3 separate regions of the Homo sapiens genome follow, and regions 2 and 3 are each linked to region 1. The links are contacts of gene promoters, found by promoter capture Hi-C in human tissues and cell types (Jung and others, 2019). All regions are on one chromosome and are shown on one strand. Each heading gives the region's core, a stretch centred on a gene start or on the middle of the fragment in contact. The rest is flanking DNA. Distances are from core to core; before and after follow the strand shown.

The links. The method cuts DNA at HindIII sites, captures the fragments that hold promoters and counts their contacts. A contact is called where the count stands out against the background at its distance.
Region 2: a contact is called between a fragment that was not itself captured here and the fragment with the promoter of RFPL3S in region 1, in 5 of the 25 tissues and cell types used here (H1 embryonic stem cells, dorsolateral prefrontal cortex, lymphoblastoid cells and 2 more).
Region 3: a fragment that was not itself captured here is called in contact with the fragment with the promoter of RFPL3S in region 1 in 4 of the 25 tissues and cell types used here (liver, neural progenitor cells, small bowel and 1 more).

The regions. Positions count from the first base shown.
Region 1 is chr22:32,369,186-32,373,704 of GRCh38, reverse strand. It overlaps RFPL3S (RFPL3 antisense), which reads left to right and starts at 2,441. Exons shown (of 5, transcript NR_104232.1): 1 at 2,441-2,507; 2 at 2,764-2,806. The HindIII fragment of the contact is 22,540 bases long and covers 1-4,519 here.
Region 2 is chr22:32,151,199-32,155,717 of GRCh38, reverse strand. It overlaps C22orf42 (chromosome 22 open reading frame 42), which reads left to right. Exons shown (of 9, transcript NM_001010859.3): 2 at 1,400-1,474; 3 at 3,092-3,156; 4 at 3,624-3,651; 5 at 4,167-4,231. Among named protein-coding and RNA genes, the nearest start is that of C22orf42, 5.8 kb to the left of the region's middle. The HindIII fragment of the contact is 4,749 bases long and covers 1-4,519 here.
Region 3 is chr22:32,224,235-32,228,753 of GRCh38, reverse strand. It overlaps SLC5A4 (solute carrier family 5 member 4), which reads left to right. Exons shown (of 15, transcript NM_014227.3): 12 at 2,931-3,099; 13 at 4,272-4,487. The region is part of intron 2 of SLC5A4-AS1 (SLC5A4 antisense RNA 1); the gene reads right to left. Among named protein-coding and RNA genes, the nearest start is that of SLC5A4-AS1, 21 kb to the right of the region's middle. The HindIII fragment of the contact is 9,387 bases long and covers 1-4,519 here.

The DNA of each region.
Region 1 (4,519 bases), core at 1,192-3,691:
TAGATGAAAGTACTGTTTAGTTTACCAAACCTTTAATCAAAAATGTCTAATCAGTACATCTTTTTAGCCCTTTAATTCATGTTAGAGAGTTTTAAGATGGAAGAAACAAATTAGACTCAAATTAAAAAAAAGTCTGACCTACAGTAGCTATTAGATAGTTAACATTTGTGACATCATCATGATTTTGTTCTGATACATGTATTTCACTTAGCATTGTTGAAATCAACTGGAATAATAGCCAAATAAAAACATTCTTTTAGTTATAATTTCAAAAACGATTGAAATTTATCAACAGTCATAACAACATCATTGTACTCTTAAATTAGACAATTCTTAGCACATATAAAAACATATTTACCTCTTTCAACTAGGACAATGTTAGAATTTATCAAAATTCACCATCATCAACTTTTTTTTTTTTTTCCAAAATCTTGATTGTTAGGTACTATAAAACTGCACCCTAATCAAATGATGTGTTTTTGATCTGATGATTTTACAAAGTTGGGAGGAAATTCAACGAAAAAAATACTTGTACAATTAAATTTCAAATCCTAAACATTTACTTATTTAAGCCTGCCTCTCTAAACTTAAAATAGATATCAGCTCCTCCAATAGGATGAGTAGATTTTCTCACTATATTTTCCACTTCTTTTTAAATTTTCTCCTCCATTTGAGCATTCAGAAGCATGAATCTGTGGGGATTGTTAAAGTTTTTTTTTAGTTTGCTGCATTTCTGAGTATACAAACACATACACATATAACTATAGTATCGTGTGTGTGTGTGTATAATTTGTGTATATACATATATTTGTTCAATCTGGAAGCCATTGAAATTTTCTGTTTATAACAACACAGAATGACCTATTCTTTCAGCACCTACCCCATTACACCCTCTGTTTTATAATCACTGGACAAAATATAGCATCATCTATATTAATGCAGATTGTATACATCATTTGTGACCTATTTATTTGTTCTAGAAATTTGTACTTAGCAATGATAGACATTTGTACTGTAATATTTATATCATGAAGGGTACCTATTCTCTTTGAAACATAGCAACTCTCTCATCTTAACCCTAAAATTTTCATTTGTTCTATTTATTTTAGGGCAGGTCACTTTCAACAGCTTGTTTTCTTGGGCATATCATAAAAGTATTTGCAATTGGGTGTTATGTATCAGCCAGAATACACACGTAGTTATACATTTTGAAAGTTATCTAAAATTCTGCATTCAGAAACACTTTAATTATATGTATTAGGCTGGGCATGGTGGTTCACGCCTCTAATCCCAATACTTTGGGAGGTCGAGGTGGGTGGATTGCTTGAATCCAAGAGTTGAAGACCAGCCTGGGCACCATGGAAAAACCCCATCTCTACAAAATATTAGCTGAGCATGGCGGCAAGAACCTGTAGTCCCAGCTACATGGGAGGCTGAGTTGGGAGGATCACCTGAGCCTGGGAGGTCAAGGCTGCAGTGAGCCATGATCAAGCCACTGCACTCCAGCCTGAGTGACAGAGTGAGACCCTGTCTCAAATAAAAAATTATATGTATTCACCCAAAGTGTTCACCCCACCGAGAAGATGCACTGGTGAAAATATAGTGATTTTTTTTTCCTTTAAATACTCAGTGAATGGCCAGCCGTTTACATACACAATGGTAGACAAATTCCTCTGTGAATTCACAAAGTTTGGGAGATAAATAAGTGCATAGTAATATATAGAGATAAGTGGAAAAATAAGTTTCATAATTATATTGTGAGAGAAATATGATTTTTATAATATCAAGTAACACTTTTTTCTAATTCTGAACAGTTTATTGCTTCTAGAAACATTAGATCACTCAGGAATGGTAGAAATATGACTTTTTAGGGAAATATGACTTTTAAAATGTGACTTTAAAAAATGTCACTTTTTAAGAAACATGACTTTTATAACAATATCCATTTATGCTGTCTTTAATTCTGAACAGTTTGCTTATTGGTTCTAGAAATATTAGATGACTCAGGAATGGTAGAAATATTTGGCAATGGAATTTCGAATCGAGAATGGAACTTCTGGTTGTTACTAACATATCGGTTTTGCCCCTGCTCAGTTTGAAATTCTTGCCATTGAGTGTATTTTGGGGTACACAATTTCTCCTCCTAAAACTTATTTTAATAAGCACAGAATAGTAATTAATGAGCTTGGGTTTTGTTGTTTTTTTTTTAAGTAAAACGCCTAATCTTTTATTTTATTTTATTTTATTTTATTTTTTTACGGAGTCTCGCTCTGTCGCCCAGGCTGGAGTGCAGTGGCGCTATGTCGGCTCACTGCAAGCTCCGCCTCCCGGGTTCACGCCATTCTCCTGCGTCAGCCTCCCGAGTAGCTGGGGGCTCCCGCCACCACGCCCGGCTAATTTTTTGTGTTTTTAGTACAGACGGGGTTTCACCATGTTAGCCAGGATGGTCTCTATCTCCTGACCTCGTGATCCACCCACCTCGGCCTCCCAAAGTGCTGGGATTACAGGTGTGAGCCACCACTCCCTGCCGTAAAAGGCCTAATCTTTAATGACCCTCCTGTGCGTGTGAAAGCACTCTTGTTGGTGCAGCAGAAAGCGGACCTCACAATACACATTGTGACTTTACCCTGAGACGTTGATGATGCTCCTATCACCATGGTTATGTGATTGGGTATATCTTGCCCTCGGTCCTAACTGCCACTGTCTGTGCTGAGTTTTTCAAAGTTCATAGCAGGTTGAACATGCTTGCTGTCATTTTCACAGATTCTGGTCTTTCTTATGGGGAACCTGAGTTCCTGCATTAAAGGTATGTTCACATTGGCCTGTTGAATGCTGTCCTCTCAAATGTACTAGTTAATATTTAAAAATATATTTTATTAAAAAATTCTCCTCTGTATTTTTCATATGCAGTTATAAATGTGTTTCCCGGTTATGTTTTATTCCTCAATTTATATATTTGATTCTAGTATCAAGCAGGATGCCTTTGAGCTTTTCCTTTATTTAAAAGACATGTCTTATTTCCTGTTACATCTGGCACCCCTCAAACCACCCAATTAGGTATCCTTCTGGGAAAAATATGGCAAAGTATGTTTTAATGCAGTTTTTACCTAATTAAGAACCTATTAAAATCATTAATTTTAAAAATTAGGAGCAAAGCTAGAATGATGCAGATGTCTTTGAGGCTTTTAACACAACGAAGTGTGTCCATCTTTGTCTTTTGTTGTTGTTTTTTTGTTTGTTTGTTTGTTTTTGAGATGGAGTCTCACTCTGTCGCCCAGGCTGGAGTGCAACGGTGCGATCTCGGCTCACTACAACCTCCGCCTCCCGGGTTCAAATGATTCTCTCGCCTCAGCCTCCCGAATAGCTGGGATTTCAGGCACCCACCATCATGCCCGGCTAATTTTTGTATTTTTGTAGAGACAAGGTTTTACCATGTTGGCCAGGCTGGTCTTGAACTCCTGACCTCAGGTGATCCACCTGCCTCGGCCTCCCAAAGTGGTGGTGTTACAGGCGTGAGCCACCACACCAGGCCCTGGCCTGTTTTTAGTATGTCTTTCCTCTCTCCTTTTTCATGAAATGTGTATTCAGTTTAGTAAATTTGGAATATGTCATTTATATTCACATATTAACTTTTTGAAAAGAAGTAAGAATGTGTATTGTCTATGTGTCAGTGTGTGAAACAAAACACACTTATTTTTATGATTGGGGTTTATCCAAAATGATAGAGATAACAATTATAGTCAATCACCCAAACCACTTACCTTTCCAAAGGTAAATATAATCAAGTGTAATCATTTTTTCTCATCCAGAGAGTAGTTCATATTTCAACATACAAAGATAGAGAAGTGAAATGAATCGGTAAACACTATTAACCAAGAACATACAGATTTACTCACACCAGGAAACACGTAGGTCACATACATATATGTAAAGATACATTTAAAAATAATAAGATGATAATTGTACAAGTTTGCATATAAAGTGTAACTTTGAAAAACTGTTAATACTGTTTCTGATGGATTGTGTGACTTAGTTCTCCTGACCTATCCTTCAGAGTTCTTTCTAAGGAGGTTGTTCGTTCCATGACTTGGAAACAATCGAAAGTTAGAGGCACTTACATGTGTTAAGAATAAATAAGGCAGCTGGGCGCGGTGGCTCATGCCTGTAATCCCAGCACTTTGGGAGGCCGAGGCAGGCAGATCACCTGAGGTCAGGAGTTCAAGACCAGCCTGACCAACATGGAGAAACCCCATCTCTACTAAAAATGCAAAATTAGCTGGGCGTGGTGGTGCACACCTGTAATTCCAGCTACTCAGGTGGCTAAGGCACAAGAATCACAGAACACAGGATACCACTTCACAATTAGCCTCAGGTGTCACCCTTGTGGCAACTCTCCTGTACAGCTGGGTTAAAGAGCCTCGGTGCTCACATGGGGTCATCTCCTCACTCTGCCTTCCTTCACTGTGGGTAGCTTGGGCTGAAACTAGACCTCATATGGCTAGGTGAACTAGACCTGGCT
Region 2 (4,519 bases), core at 1,036-3,535, 220 kb after region 1:
TAAATGCTATTAACAAATCTATAAATGGATAAAAATATACTATGATATATCAAATGTCACAGCTCAGTCATGGTCACAACATTGATTAAAACGTTAAACAGTTTAGGCAAGTCTGAGAACTGAGAGGGAAGTACAGGATTGCTTTGGAAGCCAGAATTAGGATTGTCGGAGCAGGGGAAGCAGAAGCAAGGCGTGAGTGTGCACAGGACTGGGGCACGCAGCAGCTCCATGGTATGCTGTGTGTCCTCTTACATGGCAGGCCACCTCCAGGCCAGCAGATGAGAATCACCTGATGGGAGATTTAGGTAAAATCACCCAAAATAGAGTGGATTTAGGTAAAATCCCAGACTGTGCATCATAACTGAGAGACTTTAAATGTTTGTCTTATGGGTCATAAAGCTAATCAAAGTGAAAATGCAGGGATAATAGACCAGGTGAGTAAATGCAGTAAGCCACCTGCCATCTCTCCAGGGCATCAACCATCCCAAAGAAATATTGGGGCAGCAGGATTTGACAAAGCTTGTGAGAAGAGCTCTCAGTTCAGGGTCCAGGGCATGATCTAGAGGACTCAGATGTTCTGGGATCTCTGTCCCCAGGGAACCAACTACATTCTTGTCCCAGATCTTCATGCCTCACTGTGGTAACTCTGGGCAAGTCACTCAAAACGTCTAAGTTTTAATTCATTGAATTGGAAAATACGGGTTGTAGCCCCTGCTCTGCCTGTCCCTCAGGGCTAATGTGGGGATCAAGGAAATGACAGATCTTTTTCATGAGCTGGAAAGCATCATGCCCATGGAAACAGTGAAGTCACCTTCCACCCTCCCCTGCCCGGGAGCCATACACGCTCCCTCTCTGTATTCAACCACTACCAAGTATCTGGATTATTCTCCCAGACATTGAATGATTGAACACTGTTGGGCATTTACAAAGCATGAGTCTTCTTAAGCCTTTATCTGTATCTCATCCTTTTTAGCCCTATAGATCTTAGTAGGTCTATAGCAGAGATCTACTAACATTCCCACATCTCAGAATAGGGAACTGAGGCACAGAGGGGTTCATTTCACTCTCCCAGGTATGTGCAGATTCTAAGTAGGATTTGAACCCAGGCCATTCTTGGTGACTTGGATCTGCTGCTTTTCTATATTGTCTCATCTAAATAAAGGTATCTGCCTGCACAAACAGTCTGTTTTAAATGCAACGAACCTTGCAAAATCTTCCAAGAACCCAAATCTAATTCAGGTAGAGTTGAAAAGCAGACGGTGCAAACCGGGATCAAAACTTTCATCTGTGAATAAGTTTTTACTAATTTCTCTGCTATCCTCTGCCAGCAACATGTCAAGCACTGTCTTTATTATAATACATTTCCTAGAATCTATAAGAAGTCTGCTCTACCTTGCAGGTTTGGACGCCCGCTCCAAGCGCTGGTTAAAAATAATATGGAGACGGCACGGGATTTGGCCTCTAGAAAATATAGGTAATGTGGAAATTAAATCATTAAGTTCATTTAAGCAAACAATTCCAGTTTATTCATTCAGTGCTCCATATTAGAGAAACTCAGTAAATGCTATGTCATGTTCTTCATTTATTTCATTTGTGCCAATTTAAATGCATTAAATCAATGGTAGATGATACAACTACACAAGTAAAGTAATATTGACAAGTTAGAGTTGTTCTTTTGTGTGTGTGTGTGTGTGTGTGTGTGAAAAGGTCTCATTTGTCGCCCAGGAGTGCATTGGTGCAATCACAGCTCACTGCGATCTTGACCTCCCCAGGTTCAGGGGATCCTTCCACCTCAGCCTCCCAAGTAGCTGGCCATAAGGCACGTGCCACTATACCAAGCTAATTTTTTTTTTTTTTTTTGTAGAGATGGGATTTCACCATGTTGCCCAGGCTTAGTTCAACTTTGATAGTAAAGGACATCTCAAATGTTTAGACATTTGCTTTCAGTTTGGTCAATTATGAATACAGCTATTATAAACCTTCCTGTGTCTTGTTTGGAAACACAATTTTTAAAATGTAACTGAGGAAATACTTAGGATTATGATTACTTGCTTGTATGGTAAGACTACATTTTTCTTTGTAAGAATTTCGGTAGAATTTACCAGTGAAATCATCTGAATATAGTGTTTTAGTTTTTTGAAAAGATATTAATCATTGATTCAATTTCTAAAATAAATATAGGCCTATTCAGATGATCTATTTCTCCTGAGTTTTGGTCTTCTAAAATAGATTTTAACAGTTAGCTCATTTCATCTACTGTATCCAATTGTGAGCACAGATGTGTTCAGGATATTCCTTTATTATTTACTATTTTTTGATTTGACTCTTCTTAAACAGATATTATTAGTACACTGTGACTTCTTTCTTTCCTTTGTGGGTAGCCAAGGTAGAGGTTTATCAACATTACTGATCTTTTCAAAGAACTGGTTTTTGGTTTTGTTGATTTTCTCTGAGGATTTCCTGTTTTCTATTCCATTGTATTCTGCAATCATTATTTATTTTTCCTCTGTTCTATATTACACTGCTGTCTTTCTCTCATTGCCCAAGTTGAAGCTTAGATTATGAATTTAGATATTTCTCATTATTGACACAGCACCCTGAATGTAACTCATTGAATGTAATCTCATTAAAATGCACACTTAATAATTAAAATGATAAATATGTATGCTTCACTACAATTTGAAGAACACAACAGGGTAGATGATCAATGTAGTGGCAGGATATGTAGATCCACAGAAGTTAAATGATCTTGTAACATTTCATAAAATTGGGGATTTGCCTGGACCTTCAAATGGGGAGGAGGTGTGATGAGATGCTGTCGCTGAACCATACAGTGCCTTTCTGTATTAAACTGTTCTTAAGGTGACATTGATGAGGTTGCCCTAGCTGGAAAGCCAAGGCTCTTTCATTTCTTTCTGCCCCTCTCCTTTGCCTTCCCTCAACACCAAGGAGAATGGTCCAGCAGCAGCTCAGTCCATGCCTGTCAACCGCCCACCTCCACATACTCCAGCCCCGGTCCACATCCCCCAGGGCTCCTTGTGGGATTCCTCAGCAGCACCAATGCACTGACTGTCACTCTGTGTTCTCCTAGGTCCCACTGAAGATGTGCAGGCGTCTGCACACGGCGGTGTGGAGGAGAATATGACATCAGATATTGTAAGATGTATTTCTTTCTCTGGAAGAGAAATGCTTTTTGTTTTTTCTGGGGCTTCTAGAATATCAAGTGAGTATCATTTTTGACTGCCATCATGATTCAGGCCTCAGTGTCATGGACTCTAGAGACCGGTCACTGGAGGTTATGACCAACTGAGGCCTGATTGACGATGGCCGTCAAAGGACGGCATCACTTACAAACTGTTTGGTAGTGAGTGTATTTCTCAGTAGCAACCTTTTCTCCTTGAAAAATAATTTTGTATTTGCCAGCCAACATAGACTTGCTAAATATTCCAAAAAACCCACTGCATTTTCCACAAGCATCCTCTATGCTTTATTTGGGGGCCAGTGACTTGATCACTGTTTCACATCCGGTTTTTTATTTCACCAAGTGAATAAAAGGCCTTTGCCAACAGAACCCAGCATGATCTGATCCTCATGGTGTTTCTTTTTCTTTTCTCTTATTGCAGGAAATACCTGAGGCCAAGCACGACCACCGTACGTATTTTTTTTTTAAACAGCTTTATTTACATGTAGTTGACATGCAAAACAATTCACTCATTTAACGTAAGTGATTCAGCGTTTTTACTATATTCACAGGGTTGTGCAACCATTTTACAATCTAATCTTAGAACCTCTTTATTCCCCCTCAAAGAAACCCCACTAGTAGTCACTCCTCTGTCTTTCCCAACTCCCACACCCCTGGATCTAGGCAGCCACGAATGTACTTCCTGTTTCTATAGTACAGCGCCTTTCTGTGTTAACCGGTTCTTAGGGTGACTATTTCACATTCATGAGGTTGCCCTAGCTGGAAAGCCAAGGCTCTTTCATTTCTTTCTACCCTTCTCCTTTGCCTTCCTTCAGCACCAAGGAGAATGGTCCAGCAGCAGCTCAGTCCATGCCTGTCAACCGCCCACCTCCACACACTCCAGCCCCGGTCCACATCCCCCAGGGCTCCTTGTGGGATTCCTCAGCAGCACCAATGCACTGACTGTCACTCTGTGTTCTCCTAGGTCCCACTGAAGATGTGCAGGTGTCTGCACACGGCGGTGTGGAGGAGAATATAACGTCAGATATTGTAAGATGTATTTCTTTCTCTGGAAGAGAAATGCTTTTTGTTTTTTCTGAGGCTTCTAGAATATCAAATGAATATCATTTTTGACTGCCATCATGATTCAGGCCTCAGTGTCATGGACTCTAGCGACCGGTCACTGGAGGTTATGACCAACTGAGGCCTGATTGACGATGGCCGTCAAAGGACGGCATCACTTACAAACTGTTTGGTAGTGAGTGTATTTCTCAGTAGCAACCTTTTCTCCTTGAAAAATAATTTTGTATTTGCCAGCCAACATAGACTTGCTAAATA
Region 3 (4,519 bases), core at 1,201-3,700, 140 kb after region 1:
CTGTGTTACAAAGGAGCAGGGAAGGGACTAATTCCAAGAGGATGCTTGGAGAGTTAAGTCAACCCAGGGGACCCTGAGCAGCCTGGGGGCCTTGAAGATAGTGGAAGTGAGATGGAGGGAAACAAGAGGAAAAAAATCGATACCAGAATGTCCTTTTTCACCTTCACAATTTTCGAGAAGACCCTATATTGTCATAGCATTTTTTTTTTTTGAGACAGAGTTTCACTCTTTTTGCCCAGGCTGGAGTGCAATGGCATGCTCCCAGTTCACTGGAACCGCCGCCTCCCGGGTTCAAGCGATTCTCCTGCCTCAGCCTCCTGAGTAACTGGGATTACAGGTGCCCGCCACCATGCCCAGATAATTTTTTGTATTTTTAGTAGAGATAGGGATTCACATCGTTGGCCGGGCTGGTCTCAAACTCCTGACCTTGGGTGATCCATTCTCCTCGGCCTCCCAAAGTGCTGGGACTACAGGTGTGAGCCACCGCCGGCCTGGCCTGTCATAGCATTTTGTAAAATGTTTTAAAAATCAAAGTACAGCACACATAAAGAAAACAGTTAAAACATGGATGCACAGCTCAGAGATGTGTCACCAAGTGAGGACCCATGTAACCATCGATCAAGTCAAGACATGGAAATTACCAGCACCCAGAAGTTCGTTCGTCTTGGGCCACCTCGTTCCAAAGCTAACCACTGTGACTTGTGATGCTATAGCTTAGTCTTTTCCAACTTCAGGCTATCATAAGTAGAATAATTGAATTTGTATCCCTTGAAATACAATTTTTTTTTCAAGACAGAGTCTTGCTGTCGCCCAGGCTGGAGTGCAGTGGCTCGATCTTGGCTCACTGCAACCTCTGCCTCCCGAGTTCAAGCGATTCTCCTGCCTCAGCCTCCCGAGTTCAAGCGATTCTCCTGCCTCAGCCTCCCGAGTAGCTGGGACTAGAGGCGTGCACGACCATGCCCAGCTAATTTTTGTATTTTTAGTAGAGACGGGGTTTCACCATGTTGGCCAGATGGTCTTGATCTCTTGACCTCGTGATCCGCCCACCTCAGCCTCCCAAAGTCTTGGGATTACAGGTGTGAGCCATCCCCACCTGCCGAAATATGGCTTCTTTTGCTCATGTTATGTTTGCAACATTCAACCGTGTTGCTATGTGTAGCTGTAGTGTAATTTCTTTCTCTGTGATGTTCCACTGTAGTAAGATATCAGAATTTGTCTACTCTTTTCAAAGAAATTGGTATCAAGAGAAACTGACCAACTATTTAAAAGACTGTACTTTGTTGGTGACAGTAACAATAGCTTTAGTAAATTAAAACACTTGGGGCAAAACCCAAAGGCCTCACTTGGCCCAGAGCTTGACTCTGGACAAATGCTGTAGGAGAGGGAGTACAGTAGGGCAGGAGTGTACCTTTAGTAGAGAAGGTACTGGTTGGTGTTCAGGAGACCCAAGATGCAGTCGTCCCACTGATAGGTATATGATCTTGGACACACATCCTCCTTAAGTCTCAATGATAAAGTAATAACTTTTTCTTTTCCCCTCTCTCTGTTATCAAATGTCTACTATCTCACAAAACACAAATAGGAAAAAAACATGTACGTTTTTAAAATTCTTGCCTTGTGGAATATATGCCTTTGTCAGGAAGATAGACAATTAATAAAGGTATGCTACCTCAGGTGACCAGAGGTGCTAGAAAGACAAAGCAGGAAGAAAGGATGGAAGTAACCTCATCCAGGTGCTCAGGGAGTCCTCTCTGAGGAGGTGGCATCTGAGCAGAGCCTGCAATGCAGGAAGTGTGGGAGTGAGCCCCATGGTGCTCTGGGGGAAGGAAAAACGAGGGTTGCTTTCCTCCCACAGTCACATATGTGATATGTTTGAGAACAAGCAGGAGTGAGGTTCATCCATGAGAAGCCAGTGGGAGAGTGAAGAGCAAGGTCAGAAAGGTGCCTGGAGGCGAGGTCATCCAGGGCCATTGAAGTCATAACAAGACGGGATTTTATTCTACATGTGATAGGAAACTGGAACTGAATGAGTTGGGAAAGCACATGATTTGTCTTCCAATGGTAATTAAAAAAAAATACCAACAGTAAGTGTAATTTATTGAATCCTTACTGTGGTTTAGGCATTATGCTAAGACTTCCCATAGTTTATCACATTTAGTTGTTGCAAGGATGCAGTGATTTTGTAACATTTAAATGAGACATTTGTGCTTCAGTCTCCTGCCCAAATGCTTGTTCCTTCCTCCACCCCACAACTGCTTCTCTGTTTCATGTGAGCAGAGAGAGATGAATGGCCTTTTACGCACACTGCAGTAAATTGCGTCGGTTCATTTACTCACAGAACAAGCACAGACAATGCTGCAGTTTAGAAAGGTTAAGAAGTCATGCTCCCTGGACAACAGGAGCCTTTAACACGCTTTTTACCTGCTGAAGTACTCAAGTAGTAAAATGCACAAGTTAGCATTTCTTGCTGATTTACCCAGCATTCTGAGATAGAGGCTGTTTCCATTCTAACCTATGCAAACCAACTTTGTTCCCTGCAAGCTAGCAAAAGAACAAAAAATGGAAGTCTGCTTTCTTTATCATACAAATAATTGCTGGTTAATAGAAGTAGTGTGGTATTTATTTCCAATTGATATACTACATGTAGTGTATTGGAGTTATTAATCACTGATATTTTAACTATTTTTATGAATAGATATTTAATCTCATAGATGAAGCTATTATGATTAATTATAGACAAGCAATTGCTTTATTGGCACTTTACTAAAAGATCACCATTAAGCACAGCATGGGTTTATGTATGATCAAGGAGCTTGATTTTGTTTGGAAAATCAATGAGTGACAACAAGAATGAACGCTAGAACTAAAGCACAATGGAAGTAACTATAGTGCTTTTGTTTAATGTTTAAATTATGTTGTTTTCTTCTCAGGATATTTGTTCTTCTATTAACTGTTGTGAGCATTGTGTGGGTCCCACTGGTACAAGTTTCTCAAAATGGACAACTAATCCATTACACAGAATCAATTTCTAGCTACCTTGGGCCTCCAATTGCAGCTGTCTTTGTGCTTGCCATCTTCTGTAAAAGAGTCAATGAACAGGTGAGTGAAAACTGGAAAAAAAGTTTCCCTGCTGGAGTGAGAAAAAAATCGTTTATTTCACTGGGGTATCAAAATACATTCTTTCTCCCCTATTTATGCAAATCATGGCCCATCTTAATTTTAGTTGAGGTCAGCCACAATTCCTGATCCTTGCTAAAGTATAAAAATATAGCGCACATTCATAGTACAGTCTTTATATGTTTCTTACAAAATATTACGTACATACATGGTGCAGAGTTGAGGAACATGTTTGGGAGGCAGACTGCCAGGGCCCAATCATGGCTATACCACCTAATCGTATTGTGATCCTAAGCAAATTGCTTGAGTCTCTGTAAAATGAAGATAATGATAGCACCTATTCTATGGGATTGTGGTGAGTATTAAGTGAGATAAAATATGTGAAATTCTTAGAAGAAAACCTACCACACTGCTAAGAATTCAAATTGTGTTCATTACTATTGTGATATATGTAATTAATTGATTATTGTGGATCATGTACCCTTAATCTTTCAATCATTCCTTAGTACTAGCCTTACTATTATGATTTTCAGATGAGGAACAGGTGCAGAGGGGTTAGTATCTATGTGCTTTCCACATGTTACTTAATATTAGTAAGTGGGATCTTGGTATTCAGGCTTAGATCTTCTTCCATCCAAAGCTCATACCATTAATCTCCATGCAATACAGTTTTTCTAAAACATAACATCTTGAGCAGAGGAACAGACACATGTTTCCACCCCCATCAACTCCTCACAGAAATAAATTATCAAGAGCTTCATAGAACTCTCAAAACTACCTAATATCAGCTCTGGAAATTGTGTAACATAATTGATACTTCTGCTTATTTTATCAAATAAATCACAAGTGTTTTGATCTAACTATGAAACAAAAGTCAAGGAAAACTTCAGCTTGGGTCAGTGTAGACAGTAGTGTCCTGGTATTGGAGAATCAACGATGGTGCAGTGGTATGTACAGTTCAGGATCATGGAAAGCAGCATCCAACTAAGAAGCACATGTATTTGCAATTTTCTCTATGTCGGTAACCTTGTGCCCAAGGTTAGCCATTTGTTGGTCCTTAACTGAGAAAGCAGGCAGGATTATAATGATGACTTACTTGAATAAGCTTCTCATATTTTCTAAACATTCTGATTTTCTTCTTGCTTCTTTTGCAGGGAGCATTCTGGGGTCTAATGGTTGGACTTGCAATGGGCCTCATTCGTATGATAACAGAGTTTGCTTATGGAACAGGGAGTTGCTTGGCTCCCAGTAACTGTCCCAAGATTATCTGTGGAGTGCACTATCTGTACTTTTCCATCGTTCTCTTTTTTGGGTCCATGCTGGTCACCCTGGGAATTTCCCTCTTAACAAAACCCATTCCTGATGTACATGTGAGTGATGAGTAATGAATACATGCTAATTT